2 separate regions of the Homo sapiens genome follow, and region 1 is linked to region 2. Evidence: promoter capture Hi-C in human tissues and cell types (Jung and others, 2019). All regions are on one chromosome and are shown on one strand. The core of a region is centred on a gene start or on the middle of the fragment in contact, and the rest is flanking DNA. Distances in the headings are between cores, read along the strand shown.

Evidence for each region. The method cuts DNA at HindIII sites, captures the fragments that hold promoters and counts their contacts. A contact is called where the count stands out against the background at its distance.
Region 1: a contact is called between a fragment that was not itself captured here and the fragment with the promoter of SRL in region 2, in 10 of the 25 tissues and cell types used here (IMR-90 fibroblasts, heart right ventricle, hippocampus and 7 more).

What each region holds. Positions count from the first base shown.
Region 1 is chr16:4,051,792-4,058,160 of GRCh38, reverse strand. The region is part of intron 2 of ADCY9 (adenylate cyclase 9); the gene reads left to right. LOC124900373 (a long non-coding RNA gene) reads left to right here and starts at 3,541. Exons shown (of 2, transcript XR_007064957.1): 1 at 3,541-4,126; 2 at 4,340-6,369. The HindIII fragment of the contact is 3,542 bases long and covers 1-3,410 here.
Region 2 is chr16:4,237,785-4,243,601 of GRCh38, reverse strand. SRL (sarcalumenin) reads left to right here and starts at 1,522. Exons shown (of 6, transcript NM_001098814.2): 1 at 1,522-1,595. The coding sequence starts at 1,535. The HindIII fragment of the contact is 19,223 bases long and covers 1-5,817 here.

The DNA.
Region 1 (6,369 bases), core at 390-2,889, 190 kb after region 2:
TTTAGACAGAGTCTCACTCTGTCACTCAGGCTGGAGTGCAGTGGCATGATCTCGGCTCACTGCAACCTCCACCTCCTGGGTTCAAGCGATTCTTCTGCCTCGACCTCCCAAGTAGCTGGGATTACAGGTGCCCACCACCACGCCTGGCTAATTTTTGTATTTTTAGTAGAGATGGGGTTTCACTATGTTGGCCAGGCTGGTCTCGAACTCTTGACCTGAAGCGATCTGCCCACCTTGGCCTCCCAAAGTGCTGGGATTACTCAACTCTCCTTCTTAGAGTCCTTTGTGACCTTGGGTTCCCTGGGCCTTGGTTTTCTCATCTCTGAAGTGGGGCTGGGAGCAACTCTTGCAGCACTGGGTTGGAACGTGCTGGCCACAGTGCTCACACATCGAGAACACGCCGTAAATGCTCCCCGGGCCTCCGCTTCCTGGTGTCGTCATCCTTATTCAGAATGAACAAGAAATCACTCCTTCAGAGTAATGTTTCAGACAGAGGAGAGAGCTTTGTGGGGGCCCTCTGGCGTGCTCACAGAAGCTTTGGTATTCGTCAACCACTGTAGGAGCCAAGCATTTCCTACAGAATGCAGGGAGCAGGGCTGGCGGGGAGATAGTGCGTGAAAAGAGAGGCTGGTGTTGGGAAAGAAACAGAGACAGAACGGTGGCCGGCGGACAAACGACAATAAGCCAGGATGATGGTGTCACTGCAGCCGGGTGCGGAGTTTCTTTCTGGGGTGATGAAAGTGTTCTAGGTTGATGGTGGTGATGGTTGCACAGCCCTGTGTGAATATGCTAGACACCACTGAATTGTACCCTGGAAACAGATGAATTGTACGGTATGTGAATTATATCTCAATAAAGCTGTTATTAAAAAAAAGATGGACAGTCCCAGCTACTCAGGAAGCTGAGGCAGGAGTATTGCTTGAGGCCAGGGGTTGGAGGCTGCAGTGAGCCGAGATTGCACCACGGCACTCCAGCCTAGGCAACAGAACCAGACGCTTCTCTTTAAACAAAAACCTAAACAATTGTAGATTTTTTTAAAATGAGGCTTTTTGTTTTTTTTATGCCAAAACCCTTCATAGACATGAAATAACAGAAGAGTAAGATTGGCGGGGGGGGGGGGGGCGGTTTCATCAGTACAGGTTACCTGAAAGAACTGAGTTGTTGGTCTGACCTCTGCTAGGACTCGCCATGTGTCATGGCAGGCCTGGCACCTGAAGGAGAGCTTTAGCAATTTGCACTCACATCATCCTGGACCTCAGCCTGGGTGATGGTCACTGTCTTGAGACAGCTTCAGAACAGGCAACCTGGGTGTGGCCGCCTTGTCAACCAGAGATAATAAAAACACAGGTAAACCTCTGCACCTCCATCGTCATGCCGAATTATAACAACAGCACATATTTGTTGAAGTCTTACTATGCACTAGGCACAGTGCTGAGTGCCCATGATGCAGAGGGGAATTTGAGAGTGTCAGTCATTTCTGCCCCTTCGGATCACGCACTGCTTTCCAGTGTTCCCAGGAGACCAGTTTTGAGGTTAGAATTCTGCTTCTTACAGTGAGGACTGATTCTGACTCCTAGGAGGACGAAAGCCCCTTTTAAATTTACTTTGGCTGGGTGTGGTGGCTCACGGCTGTAATCCCAGCACTCTGGGAGGCCGAGGTGGGTGGATCACTTGAGGTCAGCATTTTCAGACCAGCCTGGCCAACATGGTGAAACACCATCTCTACTAAAAATACAAAAATTACCTAAGTGTGGTGGTGCACGCCTATCGTCCCAGCTACTTGGGAGGCTGAGGCAGGAGAATCCCTGGAGCCCGGGAGCGGAGGTTACAGTGAGCTGAGATTGCATCACTGCACTCCAGCCTGGATGACAGAGTGAGACTCGTCTCAAAAACAAAACAAAACACAACAAAACATTACTTTGAAGCCACAGCATTTTGCACAGGTAGGAAAACTGCTGGGCCTGGAGATCTTCTATAAATATGTTGAGAGCTGATGTTGAAGAGATTATTGAAGAATCCTGATGTCACAGAATTTTCTATAGACAACCTCCTTGCGGGGAGGGCGCAGCTTTCGGGTTCTGTATCGCACAACACCGGCTGGGAGCTCCCTGCATGTGTGTTTCCAGCACTGCCTGTCTATGGGAGCTAAGGAAGTGGCTTCAAAACCGCTTGCCAGAGACGCGCAGTCACCCAGTCGTTGCAGCGCTTGTACTTGTGGGAGCTGTCTTGCAGGCTCAGGCATCTTTGATAAGGAATTCCTCATACTTAGAAGTGGCACCTTTGTTCTGCTGGGGAATTGTTCCCAAAAGGTATCTTTTTTTTTTTTTGAAACGGATCCTCGCTCTGTCGCCCACGCTGGAGTGCAGTGGCACCATCTCGGCTCACTGCAAGCTCTGCCTTCTGGGTTCATGCCGTTCTCCTGCCTCAGCCTCCCAAGTAGCTGGGACTACAGGCGCCCGGCGCCACGCCTGGCTAATTTTTTTGTATTTTTAGTAGAGACGGGGTTTCACCGTGTTAGCCGGGATGGTCTCGATCTCCTGACCTCGTGATCCCCCCACCCCGGCCTCCCAAAGTGCTGGGATTGTAGGTGTGAGCCACCGCGTCTGGCCTTTTTTTTTTTCCTTTTTGAGACAGAGTCTTGCTCTGCTGCCCAGGCTGGAGTACAATGGCCTGATCTTGACTCACTGCAACCTCTACCTCCTGGGTTCAAGCAATTCTCCTGTCTCAGCCTCCCGAGTAGCTGGGATTATAGGTGTGTGCCACTATGCCCAGCTAATTTTTTGTATGTTTAGTAGAGACAGGGTTTCACCATGTTGGCCAGGTTGGTCTTGAACTCCTGACCTCAAGTGATCTGCTCGCCTCAGCCTCCCAAAGTACTGGGATTACAGGTGTAAGCCACCACGCCTGACCCCAAAAGACATCTAAAAAGGCTTTTTCACTTGTGAAATCTGCTGAATAGAGCTGGCTTCCTGAGGCCTGGGGGCCCTTCCCGGTGTGGAAGAATGGCTCTGCTGTTGGCTACCACAGTGCTGGGGCCTGTACTCCCACCTCCTCTGCCTCTGTCTGCCTTGTGTGCCTCCCCTTCCGCGGGGGCCCTGCTCTCTGCCTCTTTCTGACCTTCCAGAGTTTTTGAGGTGTGAGTGTGTTGTTGAATTTCATTTACATAATAATTAAAGAGTCAGGGTTTCATGATCTACTGATGTAAAACCCGCAAAAACCCTAAAATCTCGAGTGGTGTTGTACAGCATGTGGGATTCTTTTGTATAACTTGATGATTTTCAAAATATCCATTTCGGCTGGGCACAGTGGCTCACACCTGTAATCCCAGCACTTTGGGAGGTCGAGGCAGGTGGATCACGAGGTCAGGAGATTTAGACCATCCTGGCTAACACAGTGAAACCCGTCTCTACTAACAATACAAAATTAGCCGGGCATGGTGGCGGGCACCTGTAGTCCCAGCTACTCGGGAGGCTGAAGCAGGAGAATTGCTTGAACCCGGGAGGCGTAGCTTGCAGTGAGCCGAGATTGTGCCACTGCACTCCAGCCTGGGTGACAGAGCGAGAGTCCGTCTCAAAAAAAAAAAAAGAAAAAAATCCATTTAATCAGAGCCATACTTGTTGATTACTACAGGTGCTTCCCGTATCTAATACCTCCAGCAAGAAGGTTTGCGAAATGGGCAGAGAGTAATAGGAAGAGTTTCAGGAAGATGGTTTGAGTGAAAATCATTTCAGAACCGAGCCCTGCGAAGTCTTGGTTTCTGCAATCCACCACAGTTTGGGAAAATCGGGAATTTTGTTTAGTCCATTTCTATTTTTGTGCACCACAAATATGTAAACAAAGCTGGGATCTTCGTCGGGGGCGGAGGGAAGGGCGACAGAACCCTGACATCTAATACTGGTCATCGGTATTTCCATGTGTTTCCTGATCCCATTGTCTCTGCTATTTAAATTAATTAATTCCACAAGTATGCACTCAGTAAATATTGTGAGCCAGGCACTATTCTCGGCTCTGTGGTTGCATCAGTGAACAAAACAGACGCTAATCCTGCTTTCGTGAGCCATCTATAATAGAATGGGCGAGTCAAGAAATTGACACATGCATTAGAAAAATATGTAGCGTGTCGCTGGTAAGTGCTTGAGAGCTCATCAGGGAAGGGCAGGAGTTTGTGGAGTGGGGGTGAGGGATGTGGGGTGGGGCGGGGCAAGGGTGGCAAGAGGCCTGGGGCTGCTGGTTGCAACTGTAACCAGAGTGGCCAGGGAAATCCTTGCTCCTCTGGGTAATGCCCTATCCAGAAGACCCTTGCAAATTTCTAAAATGCTGTGTTTTATTACCGAGAAAGAGTCGTCTGGGAGCTCTCCGAGGCAAATAACTTTTGAAGTTGGCATGAGCAGGATATTGTGCAATGGGGCTCACTGGCTGCGTCCCAGGCCTCCGCATCTGATGTGAACCACAGCTTTGCAATCGGGTCCCCGTGCCATCCAAAAATATTTTGTGACCTTGCCGGTTGGCAGTTTTTTAAAAATGTTATTTTCAGTCTCCAAAAAAGGGAAACATCAAAGTGCAGGCTGTCCACTCCTGCCCTTCTTGATAGACACAGACAGCTGGGCCACACAATCAGCCATTGTGGCGACAAGTGCCCAACTGTTATAAATAGACGGCGGGCTCGCACGTGAAGCGCTCCAGAGGAAGGGCAAGTGCTCTGGGGACACTGCCAACTGCTGTTTCCGTCGAGAGCTCTTCTCAAAGATCAATATTATTTTATGTCTCAGTGACTGAATTTGAAAAAACGACTGTGAAAGCACCTGGTAACTTAACTGTCTCCAGGATTCCATTCCAAACGCATCTTCTCTCTTCACTGTTAATCTTAGATGTTTCCCATGCTTATTTAGTAATCATTGCCTGACGGCCCACTTCACTGCGATTTACAGTCTCTTGCGGCTCACTTGAAATGGTAGAGTTATGGATAACCGCGCTGGTGTATGTGCGTGTGATGCGTGGCCGGAAGCGCATGCCCATTGAATAATCACGTTCGTCCCACATCTTAGCCCCTCTTCCAAGACATGTTTACTATCGTTTACGTGTGACATGTCAAAACATCTTAAAACTATGCCACGCATGTAATAGGCTCTCAGTGATTAAAAAATCAGTTTGTCTCTTAAGGAGAAAAGAATAACAGCATGTGACTCTTGTGAGTCCCTGACAAAGAATCTGTTGTTCCCCGTGCACTTGAAGAGCCGCTCATGTCAAGAAGCAACTTGTGATTATGCAATGTGTGACTTAAGGCATTGTCAGATGCGTTCGGCTGAAACGGGACCCCGCCCCAGCAGTTTGCCTTACTAAGTTAACATGGTAGGTCAGATTTTAGTATTGTAGAAAAAGCCACATTCAATATTCTTTGAGTAGCATATTTATTTCCTAGGGCTACTGTACCAAAGTACCTCAAACCAGGTGGCTTCAAACAACAGAGTTACACGCTAGTTGATATCTAGTGATTCAAAGAACAGAATTCCACACTAGTTGTTATCTAGGAATGCGGAGTGAGTGATAGAGGGGGTTTTGGTGGCGTTATATTCTAATTTTGAAGTAAGTTTAAATTTACAGAGATGCTCCCAAACAGTATAAAGAATTCCCAAATACTCTTCACCCAGATTCCCTGAATTAACATTCCGACATGTTTGTCTGTCTGTCTCTCCACATACACACATCCCTTTTTTCCGGAATAATTTGAGAATAGACTGCAGAGAGTGCCTCTAGATTCTCCTGTGTGGGTTTCCTAAAAACAAGGACGCTGTCCCGGATAGCCTGCACCGACCTGCCCAAATCAGGACGTGGGCACTGTCACACCATGCCACCAAATGCAGAGGCCCCGGAGCCCGCCCAGGACCACAGGCGCCGTCTGTGTCAATGGCTCTCGAGTCTCCTTCAATCTGGGGCTGTTCCTTCGTCTCTGTCTTTCACGACCTTGACATTTTTTTAAGAGAACAGGCCAGTTACTTTGTAGAATGTCCCTCGGTTTGGGCTGGTCTCATATTCCTTCATGATGAGAATCAGGTGGTAGGTTCCTGGCAGGAGAGTCCCTGCAGGGTTGTCACGACAGGAACGCACACAGGTCTGATCAGTCCCATTTCTGGAGAAGTTAACTTATCATTTGGTTGAGGTGGTGTCTACCAGGTTTCTCCACTGTAAAATTAATTTGTTGGTATTTTGTAATTATCAGTTAAAAAGTACTGTTTCTGGTGGGGAGATTTTTTGGGGACTCGGAAAATATCCTGTTTCTCATTAAGCTTTTTGCCCATTTGTTTTAGCATCCTGGGATGATTCTTGCCTGAGGGAATTAGTATGAGCATTGCCAAATGGTGATGTTTCTAG
Region 2 (5,817 bases), core at 273-2,772:
AGTGACATAGGAAGACCATGTTTGCAAAAAACAAAAAAATTAGCCAGATGTGGTGCACACCTGTATTCCCAGCCCCTCGGAGGTTGAGGTGAGAGGGTGGCTTGAGCCCAGGAGTTCAAGGCTGCAGTGAGCTATGATCGTGTCACTACTCCAGCCAGGGTGACAGAGACCCTGTCTCTTAAAAAAGATTAAAAAAAAAAAAAAAGTCAAGTGCCTACCAGATGCCTAATTCTTTTTTTTTTTTTTTTTTTTTTTGAGACAGAGTCTCGCTCTGTTGCCCAGGCTAGAGTCAGTGGTGCAATCTTGGCTCATGGCAACCTTCGCCTCCTGGGATCAAGTGATTCTCCTGCCTCAGCCTCCTGAGGAGCTGGGATTATAGGCACCCGCCACCACACCCAGTAATTTTTGTATTTTTAGTGGAGATGGGGTTTCACCATGTTGGCCAGGCTGGTCTCAATCTCCTGACCTCAGGTGATCCACCCGCCTCGGCCTCCCAAAGTGCTGGGATTACAGGTGTGAGCCACTGTGCCTGGCCCTGATTTAGTTCCTTTCCTCCAAGGCTGGCTTCTACCTCTTCCCCACACAGTGACACTGTACCCCGACCAGACAAGCAAGTGTCTGCTTTCCCTTGGCTTCTTACAACTGGCTCTCTGGGCCATCTACAAAAAATTTTAAAAAATTAGTACAGCATGGTGGCACTACTGTCCTAGCTACTTGGGAGGCTGAGTTGGGAGGATTGATTGAGCCTGGGAGGTCGAGTGCAGTGAGTGATGATTGTGCCACTGCAGTCCAGCCTGGGTGACAGAGCGAGATCCTCTATCAAAAACAAATAAACAAAAAAGCACTTTGCAGAGGTGACTGAATGTTCTGGAACCCCTGGGCCATTGGAAATGGATATCTGTTGCTCCATCCTCCAGTTTACACCGTAGCCTCAGCTTGTGTCTCAGTGTGCCCCTCTCCCTCTGGTCTGTGCTCTCTCTCTTCCAGAGGCTGGGAAGGTTGTTCCAGGGCTGCAGCCTTGGACCTCAGAGGTCACATGTTGCGGGTTTGCCGTAGCTGACCACTCTCTAGCATGTGGATCAGTGGCTGTTAAATAGGATTTCTTTTGCGTGGCCTTACAACTTCCTCCTTCCAGTGCAGGCGTGTCAAGGTCCTTAACCTGCCGAGACTTCAGGTCAAGTTATTGCAAGTTCTGGGAAGACTCAGCTTCCCAGCTCCACCGCCTGAGCCCAAGGGATGCTCCATTTTATGCCTGTCACCCACGCCCTGTGACCCATGTCATGTGATCCCAGGGCTGCAGGGGTTCGGGGGAAGAGAATCCAGCCACGGCCCTGCCTTCTGGGGCCTGGCAGCTGGGACAGCAGTGGCGCAGCCTGAGCCTCTGCACAGCCTTCTGGGGTCCGGGCTTCTTCCCCATCACACCCTCCTAGTTGCCCTGGTGACTGTGTGACCCCTCTCCCCCCTCCACCGCCTGCTGCCACGGCCGGCCGTATAAATAGAGGCGAGGAGCAGCTGGGCTCTCTTGGCAGTCACCATGAGGGCGCTGGTCCTGCTCGGCTGCCTCCTGGCCTCGCTCCTGTTCTCAGGACAAGCAGGTAGGGCCCCTCCCAGCATGACCCAGCCCAGACTGGTCCCCCACGCTTCCTCCAAGGTTTTCTGTCTACCATGGGTTGGGTAGGGGGTCGGGGCTGATGGCAAACCCTGGCTCTTGGCTGGTGTCTTCTTACCCTTCTCTTTTCCCCGGGCCTGGGGCCTCAGAGAAAGAGCTGGGTGCTGGAGAATAGCAGCACAGTTGCGGGGCCCTCAGGAAGGCCAGAGGAAGTGGGAACGGCAAACAGAGCTGAGCTGTGAGCCAGGGTCAGAGAGGAGTCTGGCCAGTAGATGTGGGAAAGAGGGCCCTCAAAGTCGAGACGGGGGAGCCTCTGAGACGGACAAAATAGCACAGTCTGGGAGCTGGAGGTCGTTGAGGTGACCCTCCCACCTGGTGGGATATAAGGCGGAGGCCCCACTCGGGTAAGAGAACTGGGTTTGCGTGGACAGAAGGGGATACAGTGGGCAAAGGTGGGGACCGTTTTGGGAGCAGTGAGATAGAATTGGAATTGGTTTGGGATAAGATCGGAAATAGAGTTGGCGGTTGGGCTGGAAACAGCATTGGATGCAATTCAGAAGAGGAACGGGGCCCGTTCTGGAGTAGAGCCTCTGCTCGGGGTGGGGGCTTCCATCAGAAAAGGGGCTTGGCTCTGTGTGCTGAGGCTTCCCTTTGACATCTCAGCACTTTGGGTAGCAGAGGTGGTGGCTTGGGTTGCAGCATGGGGGTTATCTATAGGCTATGGAGGAGATGCCAGATTGTTTTGCCACCTCTCTTGTTCCTAAGGTTCCTGAGGCCAGGTTCCCCGAGGGAATGCTTTTAGGGAGGTGCTCCGGGGATCCCCCTAGGATCCGGACTGCCCACCGAGTCTTTTCATGACTCGGCAGTCTTCCCCCAAGCTGGGCTCTGAGCCTAGGTCCGTACCTGGGACTGGAGAGGCCCAGAGTCCAGCCTCTCAGGTCTTTGAGGTTGAATAGGGGGTTGCAGGGGCACAGTCCCTGCAGGGAGAGCAGGCAGTGGGTGGGAACAAAAGCTATTTCTCGGGGACTCAAGATGTAAGGTGGGGGGCTCCAGCCACTGCATGTGCTGCTGGGCCCTGCCCTTGTCTGTCCTTGAGTTAATTTGGGCTCTGCAGGGCTGCAGCGGCTTGAGTGCTGAGTATTCCAGGCGGCTGTCAGGCGGCTAAGTATGGAAACAGCCGCGTAATTGGATCCGGAGCCCCAAGCCGCTGCCACCCTCTCCCTTCGTGGCCGCTCCTGTGCTGCCCCCCAGCCCCAGCTGCTGGGCTGCTACACACTGGGCCCCAGGAATTTTTGGCCTTTTAGGGACATCCTTTATCTTTCCTCCCACCGAGGGAACTGGTCATCTGGAATGTTCTGCAGGCCTCGCTGGGGGCTCTTGTCGTGGGGAAAGGACGCAGGCAGGTGCTTGTGCAAAGGTCCCTTCTCTCTGCTGTCTTTCCTTCCTGGGTCCCACAGCGTGCGTCTGCCCCTGGCCCAACCTCCGGCGTAAAGCTTCCCTCTGTCCCTGCTCCTGCTCAGCACTTGGGCTGTGGGTTTCATCCACTGTGGTGGATTTTATCAGGACTCTGCCCCACTGTGGACTGTATACCCCAGAATAGGCCTCCTCCTGCATCCACCGGCAGGTTCTAACCCACAAGGTGGCTTCCTCACGCCCCCATCATGACAGTCCTTCCTACTGGGTGATTTCCCCTTCAGAATTGTGCCACCCCGGTAAATACCACCCCACCCAAAGGTCACATCTTGGCTCCTGACCTCTTTCCCTCATCTCTCCGCTGTGTGCTAACTTCCCTCCCTATCATGCTTGCTCCTTGGCTGGGTGGCGGCAGATATTCTCGCTCACCACTCCCATCTGCTTCCTAGGCCAGGGACCCCACAGAGCTTCTCCTCCGGCTTCTCCTCCTTGTTGCTCGTGTGCAGCTCTGGCTGGGGTGGTGGGCTCTGCAGCCCTCCTTCTCGCCTCCCTGTGAGGAGACAAGCGCCCCTCTGTTACCAACCACCCGTCGCCCGTGCCCATGCCAGGACGGGGAAGGAGCAGCCAGGTGGGGCCTTACCCGGTTTCCACCTCCCGACCTGCTGCTGCACTCAGGCCTTTGTACCACCCACTGGGCCCTCCTCTTTGGGAGTCCTGGCTTGGGGCTGTTCCTCCTTAAAGCAGTGGGAAACGCCCCTAGCAATGATTTGATCGGTCTCCCCACCATCCAGGGAAGGGAAGGAAACCCAGAGAAACAGGAAAACTTTTCCGAGGTCAGACAGCGCGTCAGTGACAGGCACACCCGGGCCAGGGTCCTCTCCTTTCCTCAGCCCGTCTCTCTGTGACAGACCCTGCCTGCACTCCCAAGCCCCTCTCTCCCTGTACGGTGAGTGTGAAAGGAGGAGAAAGGGTGCAGTGGATAAGACCGTCCTGGGGGAGTTTCCCTAGTTTGCAGGGCGAAGAGCTATGCTTTTGGTTTCCCTGGAGAGCGAAGTCTGCTGAGAAAGCATTTCATTTCTTCGGGTTTAAGCCATTGGTGTTTACTGCTAAAGGCAGAATTTGGGACCTCTTTGCTTCCTGTTGTCCCTCTTGTTGCTTGATACGGAGATTGGGGATCTGGGGATTCCTGTCCATCTCATCCTTCCTCCACCTCCAGCCCTAGCTTCAGACTTGCCCATCTGCCCTGGCCCCACCCGGCCACCCCAATGGCAAGGGGCTGGTGCATGCTGGGGCTGCCCCTCTGTGAGTGCCCACAGCTCAGTGCCCGCCATGTGAGACAAGGGTGCAGTGACGGTCAGGAAGCTGTTTCCCCGCCCCTTTCTCTCCCACCCCTGGCTGGTTATTTCTGGAAAGAGGCCAGCACTCCAGTTTCCTCATCAGGGCAGCCTAGCTGTGGCAGGGCTGCTGAGAAAATGTAGCAAGCTCAGGGGTCTTGGGGAGAGAACAGACCCCAGAAGCCTTTTCCCCACAGCTGGTTCCCTGACTCCTCATTTGGTGCAGCCGGGCAAGCCTGTAGGGGACATCTGGTCCCACAGTGAGCCTGGAATGCACTAGACTGGGTCTTGCTAATGAACACATCCCTCAAGAAGGTAACACGGTGGTCGGACACAGTGGCTCACACCTGTAATCCCAGCGCTTTGGGAACCCAAGGTGGGAGGATCGCTTGAAGCTAAGAATTTGAGACCAGTCTGGACAACATAGTGAGACCCTGTCTCTAAAAAAAAAAAAAAATAGCTCGGTGTAGGGGTGCATGCCTGTGGTCCCAGCTACTTGAGAGGCCGAGGGGGGAGGATCACATGAACCTGGGTGGTCAGGCTGCAGTGAGTTGTGATTGCATCACTGACTCCAGCCTGGGTGACAGAGCGAGACCTTGTCTCAAGGAAAAAAAAAAAAAAAGTGGCACCGGGCATGGTGGCCTGTGGAACTGCTGTTTAGGAACTGCTGGTTTTTTCCTACATCCAGGTATTACAGTGAAGGTCAAACAGTGAGTTCATGGCAGGCCAGAGCTGGAATTCAGTCCTTTCCACTCCTTGGCCAGTGCTTTTACCCGCTTATCCCCCAGAGGGAGGTCCAGATGAGGCCGGTAGCATCTAGCTGGCCGTTTGATGCCTGCTTGGGTGTAGTGGGCTGGGGAGAGTCAGCCTATGGACTCAGGAGGGGGACAGCTGTTTCCGTTCTCTGACCTGGCCTGCAGGCTAAGGACAGAGCTAGGCCCTGTGCATCCTGGCTGGAATGAGGCAGGTGGCTGGGGGAGTGGGGAGCAGGGAGGGCCATGGCTGTGGGATGGAGCGCCTGGGCTTACTTAGCTCTCTCTCCTGGGCACATGCCCTGCTCCAAACCCAAATCCAGGCCTCATCGCAGCATAAGTCCTTACCTGTAAACATCGCTCGTATGTGCAACCCTGTCATTCAAACACCTCAACGTGTTCCATCATTCGTGAACCCATCCCTCGTTTGCTGCATCCCTGCTGTTTTTGAAGTATGGTACTAGGGGAATTGAGACAGGCATTTTGTCCTCAGTGCTTATAGTCCAGTAGGGGAGAGGAGGCGTCTTCTCCCTTGCACGTAGCTGAATCTAGTCAAATGGGACACACATCAGTGTCACTGGGGAGGCACAGGAAAAGCAAGGTGGGGCTGAAGGCAGGGAGGAGACCATCCTGAGCTGAGTGGATCGGATCAGAAAAGGTTTTACGGATGAGGGAATATTTGAGCTGGGCCTTGAAGAAAGCAGGATTC